Linked DNA regions of Homo sapiens: region 1 is linked to region 2. The links are contacts of gene promoters, found by promoter capture Hi-C in human tissues and cell types (Jung and others, 2019). All regions are on one chromosome and are shown on one strand. The core of a region is centred on a gene start or on the middle of the fragment in contact, and the rest is flanking DNA. Distances in the headings are between cores, read along the strand shown.

The links. The method cuts DNA at HindIII sites, captures the fragments that hold promoters and counts their contacts. A contact is called where the count stands out against the background at its distance.
Region 1: a fragment that was not itself captured here is called in contact with the fragment with the promoter of MDM1 in region 2 in 2 of the 25 tissues and cell types used here (lymphoblastoid cells and stomach).

Annotation. Positions count from the first base shown.
Region 1 is chr12:68,587,556-68,594,383 of GRCh38, forward strand. No RefSeq gene overlaps it. Among named protein-coding and RNA genes, the nearest start is that of RAP1B, 20 kb to the right of the region's middle. RefSeq lists enhancers at 303-352, 4,514-4,723. The HindIII fragment of the contact is 7,878 bases long and covers 1-5,850 here.
Region 2 is chr12:68,326,715-68,334,137 of GRCh38, forward strand. MDM1 (Mdm1 nuclear protein) reads right to left here and starts at 5,648. Exons shown (of 15, transcript NM_001354969.2): 1 at 5,514-5,648; 2 at 4,393-4,507; 3 at 1-307. The coding sequence starts at 5,531. LOC105369819 (a long non-coding RNA gene) reads left to right here and starts at 5,917. Exons shown (of 3, transcript XR_945057.3): 1 at 5,917-7,423. RefSeq lists an enhancer at 5,199-5,288 and a silencer at 5,589-5,848. The HindIII fragment of the contact is 12,003 bases long and covers 2,601-7,423 here.

The DNA.
Region 1 (6,828 bases), core at 662-3,161, 260 kb after region 2:
CTGTCAGTGTATTAAAACCACATTACCAGCACAGGGGAGCTCCCTGCCTCCACTGTCAGAGCTACCACAGTCACCATGTGCTATAGTTTGGATCTGTGTCCCTGCCCACATTTCATGTCAAATTTTAATCCCCAGTGTTGGAGATGGAGCCTGGTGGGAGGTGATTGGATCACTGAGATGGTCCTTCTTGAATGGTTAGCACCATCCCTTTGGTGCTGTTCTCATGATAGAGTTCTCGTGAGATCTGGCTGTTTAAAAGTGTGTGGCACCTCCCCTCTCTCGCTCTTGGTCCTGCACCTGCCATGTAAGATGCCTGCTCCCACTTTGCCCTCTGGCACCATGATTGTAAGTTTCTTGAGGCCTCCCCAGAAGGAGATGCTTCATTGCTTCCTGTATAGCCTGTGGGACCATGAGCCAATTAAACCTCTTTTCATTACAAATTAACCAGTCTCAGGTATTTCTTTTTTTTTTCTTTTTTTTTTTTTTTTTTGAGACGGAGTCTCACTCTTGTCCCCCAGGCTGGAATGCAGTGGCGCAATCTCAGCTCACTGCAACCTACCCCTCCCAGGTTCAAGTGATTCTCCTGCCTCAGTCTCCCAAGTAGCTAGGATTACAGGTGCCTGCCACCACACCCAGCTAATTTTTGTATTTTTAGTAGAGATGGGGTTTTACCATGTTGGCCAGGCTAGTCTTGAAGTCCTGACCTCAGGTGATCCACCCACCTTGGCCTCCCAAAGTGCTGGGATTACAGGCGTGAGCCACCACACCCGGCTTTTTTTTTTTTTCTTTTTTTTTTAGGCATAGTTTCACTCTTGTCATCCAGGCTGGAGTGCAATGGTGTGATCATGGCTCACTCCAACATCTGCCTCCCAGGTTCAAGTGATTCTCCTACCTCAACCTCCCAAGTAGCTAGGATTACAGGCATGCACCATCATGCCCAGCTAATTTTTGTATTTTTAGTAGAGACGGGGTTTTGCCATGTTGGCCAGGCTGGTCTTGAACTCTTGACCTCAGGTGATCCACCCACCTTAGCCTCTCAAAGTGCTGGGATTACAGGCATGAGCCACTGTGCCCAGCTCAAGTATTTTTTTTTTAAAGCCTCACTTTGTTACCAGGCTGGAGTGCAGTGGTGCCATCTCAACTCACTGGAGCCTCCACCTCCCGGGTTCAAGTGATTCTCCTGCCTCAGCCTCCCAGGTAGTTAGGACTACAGGTGCATGCCACCATGTCCAGCTAATTTTTGTATTTTTAGTAAAGATGGGGTTTCACCATGTTGACCAGGATGGTCTCGATCTCTTGACCTCATGATCCACCCGCCTCAGCCTCCCAAAGTGCTGGGATTACAGGCGTGAGCCACCATGCCTGGCCCAGCTCAAGGATTTCCTTATAGCAATGTGAGAATGGACTAATACAGAAAAGTGGTACTGAGGAGTAGGGCATTGCTATAAAGATAACTAAAAATGTGGAAATGGCTTTGGGACTGGGTAATGGGAAGAGGTTGGAAGAGTGTGGAGGGCTCAGAAGAAGACAGGGAGGTGAGGGAAAGTTTGGAACTTACTAGAGACTTGTTGAATGATTGTGACCAAAATGCTGATGGTGATATGAACAGAGATGGCCAAGCTGATGAGTTCATGAGTTCTCAGATGGAGATGAGGAACTTATTGGGAACTGGGGCAAAGGTCACTTTTGTTACACCGTGGCAAAGAGCTTGGTTGGATTGTGCCCCCGTCTAGGGATCTGTGGAACATTGAACTTGAGAGTGATGACTTAGAGTATCAGACAGAAGAAATTCCTAAGAAGCAAAGTGTTCAAGATATGGCCTGGCTGCTTCTAACAACCTATGCTCATGTGCATAAGCAAAGAAATGACATAAACTCAAAGTTACATTTCAAAGCAAGGCAGAGCATAAAAGTTTGAAAAATTTGCCTCTGAGCCATGTGGTAGAAAAGAAAAGCCCATTTTCAGGGGAAGAATTCAAGCCAGCTGCAGAAATTTACATAAGTAAAAAGAAGCCAAGGCCGGGCACAGTGACTCACACCTGTAATCCCAGCACTTTGGGAGGCTGAGGTGGGCAGATCACATGGTCAGGAGTTTGAGACCGGTCTGGCCAGCATGGTGAAACCCCGTCTCTACTAAAAATACAAAAAATTAGCTGGGTGTGGTGGCACATGCCTGTAGTCCCAAGCTACTTAGGAGGCTGAGGCAAGAGAATTGCTTGAACCTGGGAGACGGAGGTTGCAGTGAGCTGGGATTGTGCCACTGCACTCCAGCCTGGGTAACAGAGCGAGAGAGACCTTCACTGTAGCCCCTCCCATCACAGTCCCAGAGGCCTAGGAAGGAAGAATGGTTTCCATGGGCCAGGTCCAGTGCCCTGCTGCCCTGAGCAGCCTCACAGCCTCGGGACACTGCTTCCTGCATCCTGGCTGCTCCGGCTCCCACAGTGGCTAACAGGGAACCAGGTTAAGCTCACACTGCTGCTTCAGAGGGTGCAAGCCGTAAGTCTTGGTGGATTCCACATGGTGTTAAGCCTGCAGGTATACAGAATGCAAGAGTTGAGGCTTGGGAGCCTCTGCCTAGATTCCAGAGGATGTATGGAAAAGCCTGCATGTCCAGGCAGAAGCTTGCTGCAGGGGTGGACCCCTCATAGAGAACCTCTGCTAGGGAAGTGTGGAGGGAAAATGTGGTGTTGGACCTCACACACAGAGTTCCCATTGGGGCACTGCCTCACGGAGCTGTGAGAAGTGGACTGCCATCCTCCAGACCACAGAATGGTGGATCCACCAGCAGCTTGCACTGTGCACCTGGAAAAACAAGGCACCCAATGCCAACTCGTGAGTGCAGCCATGGGGGCTGAACTTTCTATTTTAAGTAGAGACGGGTCTTCACCATGTTGGCCAGGCTGGTCTCGAAGTCCTGACCTTGGGTGATCCACCCACCTCGGCCTCTCAAAGTACTGGCATCACAGGCATGAGCCACTGGCTCAGGTATTACTTTATAAAAACGTGAAAATGGACTAATATAGAAAAGTGGTACTGAGGAGTAGGGCACAAAGCCTTGGGCATAGCTGTCAAGGCTTTAGCAGCCCACCCCTTGTACCACTGTGCTCTTCATGTGAGACATGGAGTCAAAAGAGATTATTTTGGAGCTTTAAGATTTAATGACTGCCCTGTTGCGTTTTGGGCTTGCCTGGTGCCTGTAGCCCCTTTCTTTTGACTGATTTATCCCTTTTGGAATGGGAGTATTTACCCAATACCTATATCTGCATTGTATCTTGAAGGTAACTAACTTGTTTTTTATTTTACAGTTTCATAGGCAGAAGGGACTTGCCTTGTCTCAGATGAAACTTTGGACTTTTGAGTTAATGCTGAAATGAGTTAAAATTAGGGGACTGTTGGGAAGGCATGATTATATTTTGCAATATGAGAAGGACATGAGATTTGGGAATGGCCAGGGGTGGAATGATATGGTTTGACTCTGCATCCATATCCACAGGCAAGTCTCATGTCAAATTGTAATCCCCAGTGTTGGAGGTGGAGCCTGGTGGGAGGTGGCTGGACCATGGAGATGGTCCTTCCTGAATGGTTTAGCACCATACTTTTGGTGCTGTTCTCATGATAGAGTTCTCATGAGATCTGGCTGTTTACAAGTTTGGGGCACCTCCTCTCTTTCTCTCTCTCTCTCTCTTGTTGCTGCTCTTATCATGTAAGATGCCTGCTCCCACTTTGCCTTCTGCCATGATTGTAAGTTTCTTGAGGCTTCCCCAGAAGCAGATGCTGCCATGCTTCCTGTACAGCCTGTGGAACCATGAGCCAATTAAACCTCTTTTCTTTATGGATTCCCCAGTCTCAGGTATTTCCTTTATAGCAATGTGAGAGCAAACTAATCACCATGTCACCTGAGATGTCACCCGTATAGCCACTAGAGGAGCCAAGGCCAGCACAAGAAAACTTGGAAAGTAGAAAAATGTGTCTTCACTACTGACCTGTATTATCTAAAAAAAAGACTAATTTCTGTGAGAGTGGAAACCATGTCATTCTTACTCACTGTTGCATCCTTAATTTGGATATGTATAGTATATGCAAGAATGCAAGAGTTGGGATTACAATTTGACATGAGATTTGGTCATGTATGTGTATTGCACGAATGCAAGAGTTGAGGCTTCGAAGTCTCATAGTACATAGCAGGTACTCAAGAAACCATTGTTGAATGTGTAGATGATAGATGCATAGCTGGATAGCTAGATACGTAAACAAATGGATGTTGTTCCCTCCACGTGCCTTATGTTAACATGTTGGCGTAAAACAAACAACAAACCTCCAGATGGCTGCATTCAAGGGGAACATCTGATAGTTTGACACAGGAAGTAACTATCAAGTGAATGAAATTTTTTTTTTTAGTAACAGGAGAAGCCTTTTTGATGTGGCGCTCAACCTGAAAGTTGTTTTCTTCCTGTCAGGGTTAGGGTAGTATGGCACTTTGAAGACAGAGAAAATAAATTCCTGGGTATTAGCTGGCAGCTCTAGAAATCAGCACTGGTGAATTTTCCTTGGAGAATGGTTTCTCACATTTCAGTAAAATTTGGATCTGCCCAGTATCAAATAGAAAGGGAATAGCTAGACCTATACAAACACAGTTCATAAAGAATCTCAACCTAAAGTCTCAGGGTAGAGATGAGGGGTTGAACCACAGGGTTCAGCCCCCGCAGCTGCTCTCATAGGTTGGCACTGGGTGCCTGTGGCTTTTCCAGATGCATTTTTTTTAAATATCAGTAAACACTGGAACCTAAAGTCTCATTATGAAATCACGTTAGACTCCATTGTCTATACATGATTTAGCAACCCTGATAAAGTTAGTACTCTAGGATGGATAAGTGAGATGGGAGATGGGGTGGAACTGGGTATAAAACATTTTGAAGCAAAAACAAAGTTTCAGCAAATAGTGTTGAACTAAAAGAGTTCTTTCATAAGTGTTTTTAGCTATAGTTTTTACTGGTATGTCAGACTGAAATATAGGACAGAAGCAGCTTTCTTGAGGTATAATTTACATACCATAAAATTCACCTGTTAAGTGTACACCTCAGTGATTTTAGTAAGTTTATGCAGTTGTGCAACCACCACTACAATCCAATTTTCAAACATTTCTATTACCCCCAAAATTTCTCTTGCACACATTTGCAGTCAATTCCCAGTCTCATCCTAAGCCCCAGGGAATTACTATTCTGCTTTTTGTCTCTGTGGATTTAAATTTTCTAGAAATTTCACATAAATAGAATCATGCAAGATATAGTCTTTTGTGTCTGTCTCCTTTTGTTTCTCATACTGTTTTTGAAGTTCACCTGTGTGAACAAACTACTGATGTGTGTGTATATATACATATGTATATAGATGTGTGTGTATATATATAGATGTGTGTATATACATATATATATAGATGTGTGTATATACATATATAAACAGCTTTTTTTTTGTTGTTGTTGTTTTTAAGACGGAGTTTTCTCTTGTTGCCCAGGCTGGAGTGCAATGGCACGATCTTGGCTCAATGCAACCTCTGCCTCCTGGGTTCAAGCAATTCTCCTGCCTCAGCCTCCCAAATAGCTGGGATTACAGATGCCTGCCACCTTGCCTGGCTAATTTTTGTATTTTTAGTAGAGACAGGATTTCACCATGTTGGCCAGGCTGGTCTCGAACTCCTGACCTCAGGTGATCAGCCCGCCTCGGCCTCTCAAAGTGCTGGGATTACAGCCATGAGCCACCGTGCCCGGCCTTTTAGCTATTTTAAATAATGCTTTTATAAACATTTTTATACAAGTCTTAGCATGAGTATATATACATTTCTTTATTTTCTCAGGTAGACCTGTAGGAAATAAATTGCTGGGTCACATGCTAAATTTATGTTTAACTTTTTAAGATATTGCCAAAGTGGCTGCACCTTTTCACATTCTTGTGGTAATGTGCATTCCAGTTCCTCCATACACATGCATTCCAGTTTCTCCACATCTCCTATATTGCTATAGTCAGTCGAACAGTGGTATTTCATTATGACTTTTAATTTGCATTTCCCAAACCAAAGATGTTGAGGATCTTTTCATATGTTCATTAGCCATTCATATAGCTTTTTTGTGTGAAATATCTGTCAAATCTTCTGCCCTTTTGTTAATAGGGTAATTTGTCTTCTTATTAGTTATAAGTGGTATTTTTTACTCTTGATACAAGTGTTTCATCAGATATATGATTTGCAAATATCTTCTTTTAGTCTGTAGCTTGTTTTGTTTTTTGTTATTGTTGTTCGTTTTTTGTTTGTTTTGTTTTTTTAAGACAGAATCTTGCTCTGTCCCCCAGGCTGGAGTGCAGTGGCTCAATCTCGGCTCACTGCAACCTCTTCCTCCCAGCTTCAAGCAATTCTTGTGTCTCAGCCTCCTAGGTAGTTAGGATTACCACCACACCTGGGTAATTTTTTGTATTTTTGGTAGAGACAAGGTTTCGCCATGTTGGTCAAGCTGGTCTCGAATTCCTGGCCTTGAGTGACCCATCCACCTCAGCCTTCCAAAGTGCTGGGATTACAGGTGTGAGCCACCATGCCTGGCCATCTTTTCCTTCTGTTGTTGAGATGGAGTCTCACTCTGGTGCCTAGGCTGGAGTGCAATGACGCTATCTCAGCTCACTGCAACCTCTGCCTCCCGGGTTCAAGTGATTCTCCTGCCCCAGCCTCCCGAGTGGCTGGTATCACAGGTCCACACCACCACATCCAGCTAATTTTTGTATTTTTTTTTTTTAAATAGAGATAGGGTTTCACCACAAGTGATCTGCCTGCTTCAGCCTCCCAAAGTGC
Region 2 (7,423 bases), core at 4,398-6,897:
TTAACTGGTGTATGGTTTGTTACACCCTCATTATTTTCCACATCTGAAGCCCCTTCAGCTCTGGAGTCTGCAGAGTGAGATCTGGTTCTTTTGGGAACCCTGGAAGCTTCTAGTGAGTGAACTCTTTCTTGAGTAACATCCTTTTGTTCTGCTTCTTGTGATTTTGGTGTTTCCGGGGCTTCTGGTTCTGGTGATGCAACCACATTGCTCTCTGAGATAGCTCCATTCCACTCCAGAGATTTTGAAATCTGTGGGTCATGGTAAGGGACTCTTCTTTTTGAAATAAAACTTGGCTCTTTCGTGATGCCTACAAAACACGGTATACAAAAATAGTAGCTACTAAAGCAAAAAGTTACAAAGACAACTTTTAAGAACACTTGTGGAGGAGAAATGAAATTTTAAATTTAGTTCAGATATATGTACCTATATATACACACAATATCCTTCAGATTATAGGATTTTAAAAGTACAGCTTTTCAACATAAAATATTTAATTTTGCTTTTAAAAGCATTAAAAATTTGACCATAACAAAAAATTAAAAATCAGGGGGTCACAAAATGTTCCAGTTATCCTAACAAAAGTCACTAGAATTGCAACGTGATAGACCTGGCAGGCCAGGCAGTACATGCTGCCTCGTTTCTAATTACTTTCCTGTGCTACTTAACAGAACAATGGGCCCTGGTACTGTCAAAATTTGGAACTTTTCACAAAGCTTCTCTTATGTGGAGCAGACCAAGATGAGAAGGGATGAGATGTCACTGTGCTGGATCTTGGTTCTACATCTGCCTTGATTTCCTGAGAATTAAAAAAGAATAAGCCCTTTTAACAACAGCTAAGATACAATTTCTCTATATTTCTGTATGGAAAGCAAATGTCCAAAAACTTAACCTTCTATGAAGGTAAGAGCAGCTCTGCAGAATGACAGCCACTGAGAGACTGCCCTAGTTTAGGGCCATTCTTTAAGACAGTTGCAGGGTGCAGAAGGAAGATTAAGACCAGAATGGAAAGGGAAGGTGGAAAGAAAATTGGGCATGAGGTAAAACCCAGGGCTCCTTAGCCTCTGTTGTAGATGTCTTGGCCATGTCACCCCGGGTCCTTATCCTTTTAAAAGGCTTCCCTAGACCACAGGTCTTCTCACTGGGTGGATATCTGTCTGGAGGCACACAAAGATGTTTTAGGAGGGTAAACAGAAGTGGGCAGCTTAAGGGAATCATTTTCCAGATCCTCAACTCCACATGTGCTCTCTTGCCTGATGCTGATATATCTGCCTGAGAGCTGCATCTGCCATCTGCAGTTCCATTTCCCACCGCCCCTTTCATAATCTCCTTTTTCCCACTTTAGAGAAGAAAGACACACCTCTTAACCAGCCTGAAACTTACTCCAGTGCGTCCGCCCAAGGTAGAACAAAACCTCAGGGGTAGGGAGCCAAACAAAGGGACAATTCAAGAAAGCATATCCCTGAGGGAGAATATTTGACAGCAAAACAAAGCAGGCAGAGATTAGAAATAACAAAGCAACAGCATCTTATTTCATATAGCTCCATGGATTTTCCATCTACCTTCTCAGTATTAAAATTCAGATATGAGAGGGATGTCATGTGAAATGTACATATGCATATAACACATTTACCTTAATTAAAGATAAACAGACTTTCTCACAGAAAATAATTCTAATTTGGCCGGTTAGTTTGCCAATGAATACTGACTTTGCCAATTGTATGATAAACATTTTCCAAAAATTGAATGGGCTAAATTGGCAACTCCAGAGTTTTTACAAAATATATGTAAAATATATAAGCACTATGCAATATACCAGAAATTCTATCATTCAAAACTATTCATAAAAATTTATTATAAAAAATAGCAATTTAGAAATGTGTGACGAAGCACAATGTTTTTCTAAATTTTTCTAGGAAGTATAAAAGCAAAAAAGCTTGAAGATCACCAATTAGACTCCTCTCTGCTTTAACACAGAGGCAGGTTTTTGGTAGAAGCACAAAATGAAAGAAGATTCTCAAGTGGTCTGCCGCTGTCTCCCAGCACCAGCAAATCCCCAGGGTAAAAATACACTACTCTAAAAGAAGGGACAGCCATCCTCGGTAACACTGCTGTTGTTTTTTGCTAACCTCCCACCTCCCATTCTGAGCATTCTGGAATTCTTGCTCAGTCCCTCCCCATGACCTAAAATTCCCCACTAACGTTCCTCCCCTAGTCCATTCCTTCCTTCATTATATACCATGCTCTAAGGTGGCTTTGCTCTCATGGTCTCATTTCATCACCTTCCCCTCAAATGCAGCTGATCTAAGCTGAAATGTTATTGGACAACTACCCAGTTTAATGAATTTTCCAGTGTCATAATAGCCCTGTAGGCGCTCAGCAGGGTGGGATATCTATGCTTAAACAGAGATTTATTTGGATTCTTAATCTAATGGAGGTTCAAATATGTGGAATTTCTGGTCATTTGTAAAAAGAGGATTATGAGCAGAGGGATTTTCCTAGCACCCTGCCGGAGAAGCAGGGACACCCAGTCTCTGAAGTTTGCCGCTGGGTCAGATCATGATGCTTCAGAGGAACTCTAAAAGAGACACTCACTCTTGCCCACTCTTCCCTTTGTTCTCTAGACCAAATTCTGAAAATACCTCGTCGTCTTACTAACTTTCCAGGCTTGGTACCCTACCCATAAGTCTTTTCCTGGCTTCAAACATCTAACATTTATGTGACTTACATGCCATGCTCGCACACATCACATGTGGGACACTAAGCACTGATCTGTGTACTCAAACCAGGCCCTTAATAGGCAACATCTCATTTAAACCCTCCCAGTAATCCTATGCAACAGACTTCCTAAAATCTCACTTGGTGAAACTAGCTCAATTTGCCCAACATCACACAGCTATTATAATTCAAATTTAGGCTAATTCATTCATTCAAAAAATAGTTTCAAGAAGCAATAGAATGTTCCAAGGCCTGTGTTAGGTACTGGGTGGTGAATAAGACAGAGCCCTACTCTCAGAGATCTAATATACTAGTAAGGAAGAATTAAATAAGCAGGTATAATGAGGTCAGTCTGTCTCCCTTCTGTTCTATCACCCTCCGGGAAACTCTGGCCCAGGACTCTGCCTTCCCTGGGACACAGGGAGGAGGCATGTGTGATAACAAGAACATGACCTCTGAAATTACATGCTTTGCACAAAACAGACTTGATTTCAAATCATGGTTCTGCCACTTACTAGCTGTAAAGCTGGGGCAGCGACCTCATCTCCCTAAGCTTCCATTTCTCAAGACCTTGGGAGCACTCTTCCCCAGCATTGTCCCCTCAGCTTTCAGGTCTCAGCTCAAATATCACCTCCTCAAAAAGAGCCTTTCCCAACCATCTAATCTAAAGCATTTTCCCTCCAATCCACTCCTCCCGCATGTTATGTATCACACTTCCCTACAATTTTATATAAAAACCTGAAATTCCCTTAATTATTGAGTGACTTGCTTACTGTTTCTCTCCACAGTTAAGGGACTTTGGTTCAGGGCTATATCCCTAGTGTTCCCAGACCAAACTGAGGGTCAGGCTGCTATTTCTCTCGGCCAATAACGAGATGCAGATAAACTAGGGAGAAAGAGAGTTTTTATTTCTATAACCAGTTACGGGAAGAAGGCCTGCAAATTATCACCAGACGAACCCCAAATTACAAAGTTTTTCAGAGCTTATATACCTTCTAAGCTATATGTCTACGTGTAAGTGTGCATTCATCTAAGGATATAAGTGATTAACTTCTTTTAATCTATAACTAAGGTCTGAGTCCTGAAGACCTTCTTCTGGAGCATCAGTAAATTTACTTAATCTAAATGGGTCTAGGTGCTGGGCTGATTACCCTTATCTTGTCTCCTGCTGAATCATGGAGGTTTGAGGAGTTCCTTCAGACCGCCAATAAATTTGTGGAGGCCTGGGGAGTTTCTTCAGACCCCCAGTAAAACTTGTTTAATCCTAAACGGATCCTGTTAAGAATTCCTTATTTTGTCATGCTTTATGGCCCAGGAAAGGCCTAGGCAATACTCTTGATGGGCTTTTGTGACATCCCAGCCTTTGTGTAAGGGCACTGGCTTTTTTTAGCTTTCAATATTTAACTTAACCGCTCAGTCAGTACCGAAACAGTTGTGATGGAGGCCTCCATTAGTGAAACCTGGCCTGCCACACTAGCTGCTGGGAATAGTCCTGGCTCATAGTAAACCTTCAATAAATACTTGATTAATAAATGAATAAATCAACCAGGCCAACTGAACTTTTAATATATCATTTGGTAAACTTAGCCCAAGGTTTACTTAGCCCAAGTTATAACGGCTTGGCCCAAGTTATAAACTTAGCCCAGGTTAGAATGGCTATTAGCCTGCTCAACTTACCTAATTGATCTGATCTAAGTCCAGCCCATGGGTACTTTCGCCCCACGGAGGAATTACAAGACTCGGACAAATAAGACTTTTTCCACAGGAAGTTCCTCTGGTATTCACTCAGCCCCTGTAATGCAAAGTACACTTTTGAGTACAGTCCAATTAATGAATGATGTTTTAAAGCAGACATCGGTGAAAAATAATTTCTGAACCTCCCAAAAGAGACTTAAGACTGAAAATTAAACACAGACGAGCTCCTTAATAAGAGCTAATATTCACCCAGCCCTGTGCTAAGCAGTTCACACGTGTTATATCCTTTAATCCACAACACCACTTGAGGCAGATGCTACCAGGAATTCCAGGCTCAGAGGTTACCCTTTCACTGATTATCTGATTCCAAAGCATGAGTTCTTGTCGGATAACTAATGACAATCTAAATTCTCATCATTCTAGATTTATCGCAGGTTTTCACCGAGTACACAATATTATGTACCATGCCTAGGACCTTTTGCTATTTGATAAAGTCAACAAAAGGCAAACTCCCCTTCCATTCTGAATACACGCCTTTAAGATAAATGAGTCAGGAGATGTGGGACGCTGTGGCCACCTGTGAAGTTGCAGGGTGCTAGTCCCTGACAGCTACCAGCTACCTGGAACTTTTAACATACGCTAAGAATGCACAACGATGAAAAACGTGTATTTCTTTATACGCTGTCTTTACTAAGAACCCATTTCTCAAGCCTTTAAAAGCCACATACACTAAAGTTTTAAAGGTAATGGGGGTTAAATGCTAAGCTAAATGGGCCACAGGTGTCCCAATCTGAAGTCGCCTTTAGTTCTCTTCGCAAAGGGACCTCCTCCCATCTCCACTCCTCTTGAGTCCCCCTAAGTAAATGTGTCTCGCACCATCTGACTCTTCGACACACTGCAGCTTGCAAATGTGAGTGAGCGGAGAGGGAACTAGGTTAAGAGGCGGCGGGCAGATTCTGGGGCCCCTCGAGCAGGCCCTGGGGCTGGCAGCTTCCGCCGGGCAGAGGGCTGCAGCGCAGAAAAGCAGCGTGACCTCGGCGCTCCACACCTCCCCGGCCATGGCTCCCCCCAGCCACATTCCGGCCCGGGGACCCCAGCCTCACCTTGAAGCGCACCGGCATGTCGCCCGGCGCCGGAGCCCCCGCTACTCCGACAGTTAACTGGAGAAAAAGCTCCGAGGGGGCGGGGCGATAACAGTGTTCCCTAGCAAAGCCTCGGCCCGGCGTCCCCGACTACGCGCCGGCGCACTCCGCGCTTCCCGCCTAGAGGCCTGTCGGTCTGTTTTTCCCCGCCCTTTTTGGAGCCTAGGGACCAATAGAGACTCGCAGAGTGCCTTACCTCCATTAGGATTTGACCAATGAGTGGCCGAAAGGGAGCCGCCTACCTCCCTTGCCAAATCCCTGGGGCTGATAGAGATGGCGGGCGGAAGGCCGGCCAATAAGGCTCCCGGAACCGGGCTGGGCGGGACCCCGGGGGTGCCTTCCTGGGTTGGGTGGACCGGTCCCTGGTTCGCCGGGTCCTGCGCAGCAATGCGTCTGCTTGCTGGTGGAATTCGCCAGCCGCCAGCCTCGCTGGCCCAGGTGCTTGACAGCATCAAAGGTCAAAGTGTGTTCTTCATGCTAACATCTATGAGAAAACCGAACGCTTCTTTTTCTGAAAGTGCTCAGATTTATTCTGCTGAATATCGGTTCGTACAAACGACAGCCGCATTACAGTTTATTGTCACATCAAAAGGGAAAGGCCAAAAAAATATATAACTTAGGCAAGATTTTTGAAACTTTATTGAAACTCGAAAGACAAACTGCTGTCTCTTCCTCCAGTGATGTTCTTCCTCCTTCAATCTCTACCTTCCCCAAAATGATGTACATACAGCCCTTAGATGAGAAAACGTTTATTGAAGATGGTTGTCTCAACTTCCAAACCTTCAGCCTTGTCTCTCCGCTCAACCTTTTTTTAAAAATAAAACTTCATCTGATTTTAATCGACTATTGCCATCATCGTCGATAAATGTTTCTTGACAGAATACTGCTGATTCTGAGAATTGGGAAAGAAAGAAATTGTCCAGATAGTTCTCTGATATACTTGGGAAGGACATACATCTTTATTTATTTATTTATTCATTATTTATTCAATAATGGTGTAATGTGACATGTGCTAAATTTCTAAATGAAAGGTGTCAATAATAAGGGCTACAGGATCTGGGAGCAGGGAGTCATTTCGGACGGCAGAAGATGCGTCAGGAGGAAATATTCAGACTGAAAGGACTGCAATAAGTAAAAAGTGGGACGATGAAAGGGCAGATGTCTGAATGGAATGCTGCCAGGCTTCTTCCAGGAACAACAAATGAGTGCCTTTTACATTTGTCATGTGTTGACTGAATAAAAGTATACCACTCTTAAACTTTCAAATATCAACACCAATCCTTGATGCTTCCCTTTAAGCATTTTCCGCAAAAGCTGTCTTCCTGAATCCTGATTGATGTCTTTGTTCTTCATCATCATCGAGATACTTAAAAATCATTTGAAGAAGCCACCTGATATCTGGAACAAAGAGCATATTAAATTAGTCCCAATGCAGCCATGCATCCAGGGGGCCCTTGATTAATGTTAATTGGTGATGACAGCATCTCTGTCGTGTAAATTAAGAATGGCACAAACAAGACACAGTGGAACATAGAACAAAAGTCATCTGCAGGAAGGCAGCCCATCTTACAGAGTAAGAAAGGCACAACTTTGGTTGTGCACACAGCTTTGTTACCACAAAATGCTAAGGTGAGATCAGCAAAAGCAAGTGTGTAGAATGTAGCCTGCCTGCTAAACAAGCGCAATGATCACTGCAGAAGAGCTCTGCTGAGCAGGGAGTAAATGACAGGAAAACCAAACAGCAGATTGTAAAAATAACTCAGTCACATCCCAGGCTTGCTAGAGAAGTATCATAAAGACTTAAGGAAGAAGATTTTACTTTGCTATTGTTAAACAAAAGCCTACCCAAGTTTAAGAGGCAAAGATATAGG